Regions from separate parts of the Homo sapiens genome. Here all the other regions are linked to region 1. The links are contacts of gene promoters, found by promoter capture Hi-C in blood cells and fetal thymus (Javierre and others, 2016). All regions are on one chromosome and are shown on one strand. The core of a region is centred on a gene start or on the middle of the fragment in contact, and the rest is flanking DNA. Distances in the headings are between cores, read along the strand shown.

Evidence for each region. Contacts are between HindIII fragments. The CHiCAGO score rates a contact against its expected background, and 5 or more counts as called.
Region 2: a contact is called between a fragment that was not itself captured here and the fragment with the promoter of SFT2D1 in region 1, in 1 of 17 cell types (naive B cells). The highest score is 6.5, in naive B cells.
Region 3: a contact is called between a fragment that was not itself captured here and the fragment with the promoter of SFT2D1 in region 1, in 2 of 17 cell types (monocytes and total B cells). The highest score is 7.1, in monocytes.

Annotation. Positions count from the first base shown.
Region 1 is chr6:166,340,537-166,344,287 of GRCh38, reverse strand. SFT2D1 (SFT2 domain containing 1) reads left to right here and starts at 1,743. Exons shown (of 8, transcript NM_145169.3): 1 at 1,743-1,869. The coding sequence starts at 1,807. It overlaps LOC100289495 (a long non-coding RNA gene), which reads right to left and starts at 1,657. Exons shown (of 2, transcript NR_040022.1): 1 at 1,141-1,657. RefSeq lists an enhancer at 918-1,811 and a silencer at 1,873-2,032. The HindIII fragment of the contact is 4,850 bases long and covers 1-2,277 here.
Region 2 is chr6:167,129,328-167,133,078 of GRCh38, reverse strand. The region is part of intron 1 of CCR6 (C-C motif chemokine receptor 6); the gene reads right to left. Among named protein-coding and RNA genes, the nearest start is that of CCR6, 8.1 kb to the right of the region's middle. RefSeq lists an enhancer at 3,626-3,751. The HindIII fragment of the contact is 4,140 bases long and covers 42-3,751 here.
Region 3 is chr6:167,043,120-167,046,870 of GRCh38, reverse strand. It overlaps CEP43 (centrosomal protein 43), which reads right to left. Exons shown (of 13, transcript NM_007045.4): 13 at 1-3,751. Among named protein-coding and RNA genes, the nearest start is that of CEP43, 46 kb to the right of the region's middle. The HindIII fragment of the contact is 5,824 bases long and covers 1-3,751 here.

The sequences.
Region 1 (3,751 bases), core at 494-2,993:
TCTCATTGCTACACTCCCACTAGCGCCATGGCAGTTTACAAATGCCATGGCAATATCACGAAGTTAGCCTATATGGTCTAAAAAGGGGAGGCATGAATCCACCCCTTGTTTAGCATATCATCAAGAAATAACCATAAAAATGGGCAACCAGCAGCCCTGGTAATAGACAGCCCTGCTCTGCCTATGGAGTAGCTATTCTTTTGTCCTTCTACTTTTTTTTTTTTTTTTTGAGACGGAGTCTCGCTCTGTCGCCCAGGCTGGAGTGCAGGGGCGCGATCTCGGCTCACTGCAAGCTCCGCCTCCCGGGTTCAAGCAATTCTCTGCCTCAGACTACCGATGTTCCTCTACTTTTTAAATAAACTTGTTTTCACTTGCCCTGAATTCTTTTTGCGCAAGATCCAAGAACCCTCTTTTGGGGTATGGATCCGGACCCCTTTCCCGTAACACTTACGGACATACTCTCTTATTCAACAGAAACATAGTTTTATTCTATAGATTTTACAATCTATTTTCTGACCTTTTAAAGTTAAGGACATAAGGATAAGACTTCTCATATTAGTATGAACAGGCCACATAGAAATATCTTCTGCCTAAAGGAAAAGGATGCTGAGCATTGGACCGTTTCATCACAAGAAGGCGCGACTTGCTTTCCTAGGGTTCCTGTGGTATTTGTTTTTATCTAATTGAGTTTAGATAAAATCTCTACTGAGGCAGTAGGATGGACAATGAAACTTTTTGAGGATCCACCTTTTAACTGAAAGATTTTAGGGAGGAAATGGAGTGGGCAAAGTAATCAAAAGAACAGGCATTCTCATTACCATCTTACCAAGCCTAGAAGCAAACAGAAGAGCAAAACCTATCACTTAATGACTTCTGGAGACCATATTAGACAGGCAGCCCTGATTTTTAATCTCCTTTCTTAGCATGGTGGAAAATGAGAGAGAGAAAAATGCCACTTCCCCATTTCTTAGTGTTTGTTCATCCAGCACGAGCCGGAGAACAGTAAACGCTTGTTCAATGGTTTCACTGTTCACACAAAACTGGAAAAATGGGTTGCATTAGCTATTCCTTTTATAAATAAGATTTCACTCTTTCAAACTCCTAGCTGACCAGTGAACTGAGTAAAGAAATAGCTCTCACAAGGGCAAAGGAGTGAGGCAGCCTCTTGCTATTTCTCCTGAGACGGTCTGAAATACAGCTCCTCGCTTTAATCCTGAGGCAGGTGTTTGTGTCTCCGGATGAGGACACCCAGCTGGGAAGGCTAGCGACGCCCCCAGGGCCACCTCATGGGTGGCAGGGCGCTCTTCGGAGCACGGCCACCTGCCCGCAGGAGCCCTCCGCTCTCCGATTCCAGGCGAGGGGAGGCGCATTCGGGGCCTCGACTTCTGGGAACCCGGGGTGCCGCGGACCCGCCCAGCAAGGCCCCTCGCGGGGCCCGGAGGACGCCAAGTGCAGGGTTCAGTGGTCGTGCCCCAGTCGGGTCTACACTCAATGGCTGTGCGCCAGCTGTGGGCAGGGGGTCCACACCCGCGCTGTGTCCCCGCGCGTTACCACGGCGCACCTCGCGGACAGTGGGAAGGGATAGCCCCACCATCAGCGCCCACTCCGCGGACTTCACGGACCACTACCGGGTCCGAGAGAAAGGCTGGTGAGCATGCGCGCATTGCTACGGCGGCCGCGCTGACGCACAGGAAGCGGGCGGGACCGGACTTCCGGCTGGTCTGTGGGGTTTCGGGTTCGGGGTTTCCTGGTGGGCGTCAGGGGCAGGCAACAGAGTGGCGGCCGCTACGGCCCTGTAACAGGGCCATGGAGAAGCTGCGGCGAGTCCTGAGCGGCCAGGACGACGAGGAGCAGGGCCTGACTGCGCAGGTAGCGAACTTGCGCCCTCGTCCAGTCCCGGGGCTGCCCGCTGGCCCCGGCCGCACTGAGGACCGGCCGAGCGGGTGGGGTGGGTGCGAGGCCGGGGGTCTGGGACTCCTCTGCCCGGCTGGTTGATTTAGGAGGGCTCCGCCTGCTTCCTGGGTAGAATTTGAGAACTTTCCAGTTTTCCATGCGGTCTACTTAAACCCACTTTGAGGCCCCCCCCCGACTCTCCCATCTGGCCTTCTGACTTAGGAATCCGCTAACGTCTGCCCTCGCTTTCCCAAATAATCCATCGCTCCCACGTACTATTTGGTTTTCTGAGCCTGGTGCGGGGTCTGGCCTCGGGCTGTGCAGCGTAAGTAGCTATGCAGGGCATTTATCCTGCAAGCTGCAGTGAGCCGAGACCCTAAAGCTTGTTGCATCTGTTTGTCTTTGGAGGTAAAGGTGGTGTTATGTGTGTGTTTGCTGGGGGGTGGTCTTTTGGAAATAGGGAGACTGGAGGAAAAATAAACAGGACATTGGTAAGTGAAATAATATTGAATTAAAATTTTTCTGTTAAGGCAGTGAGCCCTGGTAAGAGATTTTTTTTTTTTTCTTAATAAAAGCCCTTGTGTCTGCGCCTTACCAGCGAGACTTGATAAGGGTTACTTCCTCCAGCAAGAAGGTTAAAAGTAGCAGTGGAGCAGGAACTGCGGTGTAAGTTTTTTTGTTATTGCATGCGATTATATTGCACGTTATTGTGTGCTGTCGCAGAAGTTGGACGTTTAAAATTGAATTGTATTTCATAAGGATCTTCTATTTGTCTCTCCTGACTTCCTTGTCATTATACTTACTCAGCACTTGGTGTGGGTAGAGTTCTGGGCTACAGTTTTGGGTTCAGAGAGTGTAAGACAAGTATCTGTTCTCATTGCACTCTGTAACTCTGTATATTACCACAGCCACATGTGGCCAATGAATTTTTTTTTTTTTTTTTTTTAGATGGAGTCTTGCTTTGTCGCTCAGGCCTGGAGTGCAGTGGCGTGATCTCGACTCGCTGCAACCTCTGCCTCCCGGGTTCAAGCAATTCTCCTGCCTCAGCCTCCTGAGTAGCTGGGATTACAGGCACCTGCCACCATGCCCTGCTAATTATTTTGTGTTTTTAGTAGAGATGGGGGTTTCACCATGTTGGTCAGGCTGGTCTCGAACTCCTGACCTCAAGTGATCCGCCCACCTTGACCTCCCAAAGTGCTTGGATGACAGGCTTGAGCCACTGCGCCTGGAGCAATTAAATTTAAATTAATTAAAATTAAATAAAATTTAACATTCAGTTCCTTAGTCACAGCAACCACATTTCACATGTTCAGTAGGCACATGTGGTTAAAGGCTACTGTATTAAACAGCGCAGATACAGAACATTTGCATTGCAGAAAGTTCTATTGGACAGTGCTACTCTAAACTTTGGAGATGCAAAGGTAATATCACTTATCTTGAGCCCACTGTCTAGAGGGGAGAAAGATATGTGGAGAAGTAATCAATCAAAGATTAGAGTGACTGGCTGTATAGACAAGTGCTGTGAGTTCAGAGGAGGTGATCGTTCATTAACAAATATTCAAGTTCCTGCATATGTTTGACATTGTTCAAGATGCAGGTGTTAATAACAGTGACCAGTGCAAATACCTCTTTCACATGGAACTTAAATTTTAATTGGAGGAAACAGTGAATAAACAAGTATATAATGTGTCAGACAGCCACAGAAAAAGTCAGAGCAGGTTGAGGAGGTTGGGGTTGCCATATTACTTAGATAAGGCCTCCCTGCCAGGGAGTCATGTGAGCACAGCTCAGAAGAGCTGCTGGGATGTCTGAGCATCCTGTGAATAAAAGCCTCCAAGGCAGATACAGAGTCCCAAGT
Region 2 (3,751 bases), core at 862-3,361, 790 kb before region 1:
GAAACATATATATATTGAATAGAAAAAAGTATGTTAAAGCTTATATCTGATAATAGGTTATATCCAGAATATACAAATAATTTTTACAACTCCCTATCAAAAACATAAACAATAAGAAACAGGGGGAAATGTGAACAGGCAATTCACCAAGGAAAATACATGGATGGCAAATACACACACAAAAAAGACGCTCAATGCCATTAATCATGAGGAAAATGCAAATTAAAACCACAATGAAGGCTGGGAACAGTGGCTCAGGCCTGTAATCCCAGCAATTTGGGAGGCCGAGGCAGACGGACCACTTAAGTCCAGGAGTTCGAGACCATCCTGGCCAACATGGTGAAACCCCATCTTTACTAAAAATACAAAAATTAGCCAGGCGTGATGGCGTGCTCCTGTAATCCCAGCTACTTGGGGGGCTGAGGCAGGAGAATCAGTTGAACCCGGGAGGCGGAGGTTGCAATGAGCTGAGATTACGCCACTGCAGTCCAGCCTGGGTGACAGAGAGAGACTCCGTCCAAAACACACACACACATACACACACACACACAGACACACACACAGAGATCCCACTGGAAGGACTAAGATTAAACAGGGGGCTGGAAGCTGGGAGAGGACATGGTGCATCTGGGGCTCTCACACTTTGTTGGTGGGACTGCAAGATCACACAGCCACTCCAAGGAGACAGTGGGGTCCTTTCTTGCACAGCTGAACATGCATCCACCATGGGAACCTGCAACCGACTCCTACATGTCTACCCAAGAGACATGGGAGGATTAACACTGGAACATTCCCAGCAGGTTTATTCTTAACCGTCCCAAACTGAAAAAGACCCAAATGTCTGTGAACTGGTGAGCAGATACCCGAGTTGAAGTGTATCCATGCAACAGCATATACTACTCAACCATGAAAAGGAACGGGCGACTAATGCATGCTCCAACGGGGGTGACTCAAAACCTTCGCTCGGTAAGAAATCCAGGCAGAAGAGACCATGCACTGCACCATTCCACCCCTAACATTTCTAGAAAAGGCAAAATAACAGTGGCAGGAATGAAATCAGGGATTGTCATCAGGACGGGAAGAAGGGATTGGCTGGGGTTGGGCGACACAAGGGGCTTTTGTGGTGGCAGAAATGTCCTCTATCCTGATTGTGGGGGTGGCACATGGCTGGGTGCCCTTGTCAAGACCTGTTGAATTGTACCCTTCAATCGGTGACATTTATTGCATATAAATTAGCCTCAATAAAGTTAATTTAAAAGTACCTGCGTACTCTTCCGCGCAAATGTGTTGGAACAGACACTTAGTGCCATAAACAGTCACAGCAAGGATCTGCCGCTGAGCACTGAGGGGTAATGGGAGGTTCTGGGGCAAGAAGAGCTTTTGAGGACTCCATAAGGACAGAGGCGGGGACGGTGGGAAGGAGTGGGCAGTGTGGGTGGAAGGCAGGGGCTTGGGGACAGCGAGGGGGAGGCCTGCAGCAGGGGCGCGGCTCTGGAGAACAAGGGAGCAGGGGCTGTGGGGAGCGGTCGCTGCAGGGTTGGACGGATGCTAGGCCAAGGTGGGGCCAGCGGCACGGGTTCCCAGGTGAGTGGGGCTGGGACCGGATGGGAGGGAGTGACCTCCCCATCACGTGGAGGCTGAGTTGATGACGATGGGAAGAGCAGCGGGGGCCAAAAAGGGAGGGACGGCCCGGCACGCCGTGCACTCGATGCCCAACGGGCCCCCATTTAAGGTAAGCATTTGTTTAACTGCACCGTGACACACAGTATTTTCTGAATTTAAGTTGAACTCAGTTCAACAAATGTTTATGAACTGTCTACGGAGGAGAGGCACTGAAGTGCAGCGATGACTCAACGCGTACTTGAGCTTCAAAAGGCTGCCAGGTAAACAAGTAATTATATAACGGTTCCATGCTAGCAGTCATCACGAGATGCACCCCAGAAAGTGAGTAACTCTTGGTGAACAGAAGGCCAGCACTGGGGCGCCTGTGTGATGGATCCCTGTCGGCAGAAGGAGTTGGGAGGGGGCCCAGAGAGAAGGGGTCCAGAGGGATGGGGGTCCCAGAAGGAGGGGTCCCAAAGGGAGGGGGTCCAGAGGGAGGGTGGTCCCAGAGGGAGGAGTCCCGGAGGGAGGGGGGCCCAGAGGGTGGGGTCCCTGAGAGAAGGAGGCCCAGAGGGAACCAGATACACAGGCCACAGGGCAGGAAGTTCCCGGCAGAGCTATGAGAAGCTGGCCTACTCCGTCCTGTTCATAAGACACTACTTTAATTTCCTTTCATTTATTCTCATGTCAGAATAAGTCAATGAACCAAAATTGATAAATTCCATGTCTCTTAGGATGGTGTTTTGCACGTGTTAGGTATAAACAATGTACAATTCTAGATAATGACAAATTTAATGTCACTGTGGTTAAGAATCAGGATTCTCCATAAAAACGGTGGTTGTCAGGTTCACCTGTATGCCAGCCACAGTCATTGAAAATGATTCGGCCTTCCCCAAGCCACTGTTTTCACAGGAAAAACTGTGTGAATTGTTTTAAGGAAACTGTTTTGGTGACAGATTGGCGTGGGTATCACCTCAACGTGTAAAGAATCCTGTTCACAACTTGCTCTATCATCTCAGATCTCAGGCAGCAGTCACCAGCTCCTTGGAGAAACAGGCTGCAGATTTTCTATTAAGAAAATGTTGATGTGAAGACACTAAGAAGTTTTTTAGTAGATATTTCTGTTCCTTCTTTAATGAACTGAGAATAAGACACCCTGTTATCTACGAGTGGCAGATGAGAGATGCAGGGAAATGTGCTGAGCCCTGTGTCCAGTTCTTGGTGAACCAGTGAACCTACCCTTGCAAAGCAGCCACCTGCAACACATCTCACACTGTCTCTTTGAGGTTCAGCACTTCCTATCTCACACGTGGTCCCTATGACCACCATTCTCACCAGATCTCACTTTGATGTCATTAAATCACATGTAAAATACATTCAGCTCAACTGATTCTTAAAGTGTAATTTTCTTGTCTTTGGAATTTAGATATTTCCCAAACAAGTGGGCAGAGGAATACTTCTAGAGCTTCTGTAGGACACACTGTTCTTTGGAGGAGGAGTTTCAGGGGCTCTAAGAAAAAGTCATCTAATGACACACTTTAGAAATGTCATTTGACTCAATTCGGTTTTGCAGTTAAGAGGCTTCTTTTCCAATATTCAGCTGCCTCAAGTAAAGTGTCGATTGTTGCTGTCTCAGTAACTCATTGTCACCCCCCACCTGAATGTTAGCCTCTCACAGGACCCGGGGTACCCTGTAGGGCGGGCACACTATGGCATGACACCAAATGAGAGACTCATCATGTCTCATCCCCTGAGTATCTCCTTCACCAGGAAGGCATATCTCATTGACTGAGCTTTATCACATGTTCTGAAGACAAGAGAAAGCAGAATTTCTTGATTCCTGTTTGGCACCTCTCTACTCTTTTTTAAAAAAAGCATTTCAAAAATATTCAGGGAATGTTGCAGTGAATTTGCCTGACTCCAGCGAATGGTGCCTGTGAAGTCCAGGAGCATAGAGCTGGTGTAAGGAAGCTCAAAACCCATTTGCAGAGAGAAAGAAGATAATGCCTCCGAATGAGGTAAAATGTTGGCTGTTGGTTCTCAGCAGGGTGTTGAGGGCATTATGAAGCAAGTGCAGGAGCGTCTGGAACGGAAGTGGTGGGCCCTTGGGGGTCAGCGTGGGTTTGGTAACACTCAGTCATGTCACACT
Region 3 (3,751 bases), core at 536-3,035, 700 kb before region 1:
TGCAAGAGTAACTTGCCAGGCAAGCTCTCAGGGAGCTCTGGAGCCAGAATGGACTCAGGCTGAGAGGGCCGGGCCTCTTACCCTGAGGCAGAATGGTCGTTGGATGGAGCCCCCTGAGAGGGCCTGGCCTTGGTGACATAGGTCTCTACAGTGGAGGCCATCCCTGGAGAGGCCATGAGAATGCCCACAGCAGCCAACAAAGCCCTTCACTGAAAAGGGATGTGGTGGCACATCACAGGATGGGGCCACCTCTGCATCTGCAGGTGGAGTGGACAGAAGAAATCAGCCAACTGCTTGTTGAAATGTACGGAGTGTTAATTTGCATAAGCAGTTCTAATTTAGAAATTAGGCTAAGAAATTCCATTTCCAAGCCTGTAGTTTAACTCCAGAAACACACCTTCTGCCAGAACTTACTACAAAGAGGTTTAGGTTTGCAGGAACAAATGGCTTTCTTCATTCTTTCCCTTCCTTCCTTCCTCCTTCCATTTTTCCCTTCCTCCATTCCATTTTCCTTCCCTTTCTTCCTTTCTCCTTCTCTCCCTCCCTCCCTTCCTTCCTTCCTCTTTCTTTCTTTCTAGTGTGATGGATATTTTCTTGGAAATGTGTGTTAAGTTGGGGTAGATCAAATAAGTGAACCCTGCAATAAATCATGACAAATAAAAATATTGGAGAATGTAATTCACGCTCAGATATGATCTGCCATATATACCTAACCTCTATAAATGTAATTAATATATAATTAATATATTGACACATAATAGTGTATGTTAAAATGTAAAGAGAAAACTAGAGGGAAACGTGAAGTTCCAACACTTACCGGCAGGGAGAGCACTGCCCCTTGGTGGAGCAATGCCCGCAGCAGGGATGAACCCATGAGAGCTGCTAGAAAAGGCCTGGCACTGGGGCAGTAGGGGTGCTGGGGCAGGAGAGGCGCATGGGCAGTAGGGGTGCTGGGGCAGGAGGGGATGTGCAGGATGAAGCATGCTTCATTCATTAAAAATTTTCCTTTCAGAAAGCTACTAGTGCTTTAGAAACCACAAAGGATTTCAAACAAAGTATGATTAAGAGGTATATCCAATAGTCTGGCAACTTACAAAACATGCCAAAATCGTTTTTTCGTTGTTGTTGTTGTTTTTGAGACGGAGTCTCGCTCTGTCACCCAGGCTGGAGTGCAGGGGCGTGATCTGGGCTCACTGCAAGCTCCGCCTCCTGGGTTCACGCCATTCTCCTGCCTCAGCCTCCCGAGTAGCTGGGACTGCAGGCACCCACCATCGCACCCAGCTCATTTTTTTTCTGTATTTTTAGTAGAGATGGGTTTTCACCATGTTAGCCAGGATGGTCTCGATCTCCTGACCTCGTGATCCGCCTGCCTCGGCCTCCCAAAGTGCTGGGATTACAGGCGTGAGCCACCGTGCCCGGCCCAAAATTGGTTTTTAAAGAAAATACAGGGCTGGGTACAGTGGCTCATGCCTGTAATCCCAGCACTTTGGGAGGCTGGGCCGCGGGGGGGGCGGGGAGGGGTGCGGATCACCATAGGTCAGGAGTTCAAGACCAGCCTGGCCAACACGGTGAGATCCCGTGTCTACTAAAAATACAAAAAAAATTCGCCGGGCATGGTGAAACACATCTGTAATCCCAGCTACTCAGGAGGCTGAGGCAGGAGAATCGCTTGAACCTGGGAGGCAGAGGTTGCAGTGAGCCGAGCTAGTACCACTGCACTCCAGCCTGGGCGACAGTGACTCAGTCTCAAAAAAAAAAAAGGAAAAAAAAAATACAAGTGTCTGAAAATTTAACATTTATGGAAAAAAAGTTTCATCATCAAATCTGATGATTCTACAAACTACCAAAAACAAACCTCCAGCTAAAACCGCAGAATGACTGGCCTCCTGCATGCCACTGTCCACGCTCCTCCATGCAGTACCTCCTGCCTCCACCCGGCCCACTAAGCTCAGGCCCCAGGCATGCCCTCTCCTCTTCCCCGGTTCTTGGGAAGCCGGTCTGGTGTGCAGAGGGCAAACCTTGCCCAGTGCTGCTGTTAAACTAAGAGGCAGAGAAGTGGCCAAGCACAGCATGTGCTAGAAGCGGGGCAGGAGTTGGGAGCCCGGCCCCTCCTCCCAGGGCTGTAGCAGAGCACACGTTTCTGCAGGCAGGGCCACAACGCAAAGTCGGATGACACGAGGGGCCAGCTCGACCTTACCTTGTTCGGGGGTTCATTTTCTAAGGGCAGCAAGATTCATTTTTAAAAACATGTATCAGGGAATAAATTTCACATTCAAAAACGCTGTCCCTCCTACCTCAGAGGCCTTGCTGTTTCCTTCTGTCTGCCACTCTCATTCACCCGGTGCACACCCAGGTTTCCTTGAACCTGAGGACACTTTTCCAATCTGACTTCCTCGGGGAAACTTTGTCAGCCTGGAGGTCCTCTGGCCAAGTCTCCTGGCGCATCTTGTCATCTTGGTCTTCTTGCTAAACATAAAGATTTCTTTGAAATTGCCTTTGAGCTTACTGATTTTGAGTCATCCCATTATTCAGCCCTGCTACTGAATTATCTTAGGCCAACAATTTTTTAGTCAAAAATCATTTTTATTATAACCTCTTTCATATAGCCTCTTTTAGATTCAAATGTTACCTCAAATCTCGGAGTGGCATAATCAGGTTTGTCTTAATCCATTCAGGTTCCTAAAGTACCTTGGACTGGATAATTTATAAAGAATGGAAGTGTAGGGCTCACAGCTCAGATGGCTTAAGTCCAAGATCAAGGTACCGGCAGGTTCACCATCTGGGAGGGCCTGTTTCCTCATAGGCAACACCTCCTCACTGTGTCCTCACACGCTGGAAGGGGCAAAGCAGCTCTCCCGGGCCTCCTATAAGGGCGCTAATGATCTCATCAACTTCCAGAGGCCCTACCTAATTCCATCCTATGTGGGATTAGGTTTCGACATACACATTTTGGGGGACACATTCAGTCCTTCACAGGTTTTTGTTCTTGAATTATCTCGTTTCCTGATTACATTTTCTTCAAGATCAGTTCTTTGTTCATCTGTCTTTCATGACATACATTCACTTTCCTTAAATGTCAGATGCTTGTTGAACGTGTGGAACTCTGAACGCAGCATTAGGACAACTCACAAAGGTAGCTGCCCTGGATTTCCTCCCCAAACACGTCCCTTCCTAGAGCAGGAAGACTAGGCCGGGCACCGTGACTCACACCTGTATTCCCAGCACTTTGGGAGGCTGAGGCGGGTGGATCACCTGAGGTCAGGAGTTTGAGACCAGCCTGGCCAACATGGTGAAATCCCGTCTCTACAAAAAAATTATAAAAATTAGCTGGGCATGGTGGCAGGCACCTGTAATCTCAGCTACTTGGGAGGCTGAGGCAGGAGAATCACTTGAACCCAGAAGGCAGGGGTTGCAGTGAGCCGAGGTCGCCCCATGGCACTCCAGCCTGGGCAACAAGAACAAAACTCCACCTCAAAAAAAAAAAAAAAAAAAAAAGAGGACAGGGACACTGGGAGCACGGACTGCTCGGAGGGCAGGGGTGAGACTAGCACCCATGGACAGAGAACTGATGGCGGGAATCCTCCCCACCCAATGCCACAGGAGGGCTCCAACTTGGGCTGGGTGTGTTTTTCTCCAGGAAGAGCTGCCTCTCCTGTCCTGCCCCCCTCCCATGTCCTTCATGAACCAACACCACAGCAGAGCCACACAGAGGGCACCTCCTTCAGAGGCCCTGCTCCAGCTGAGCTTGGTG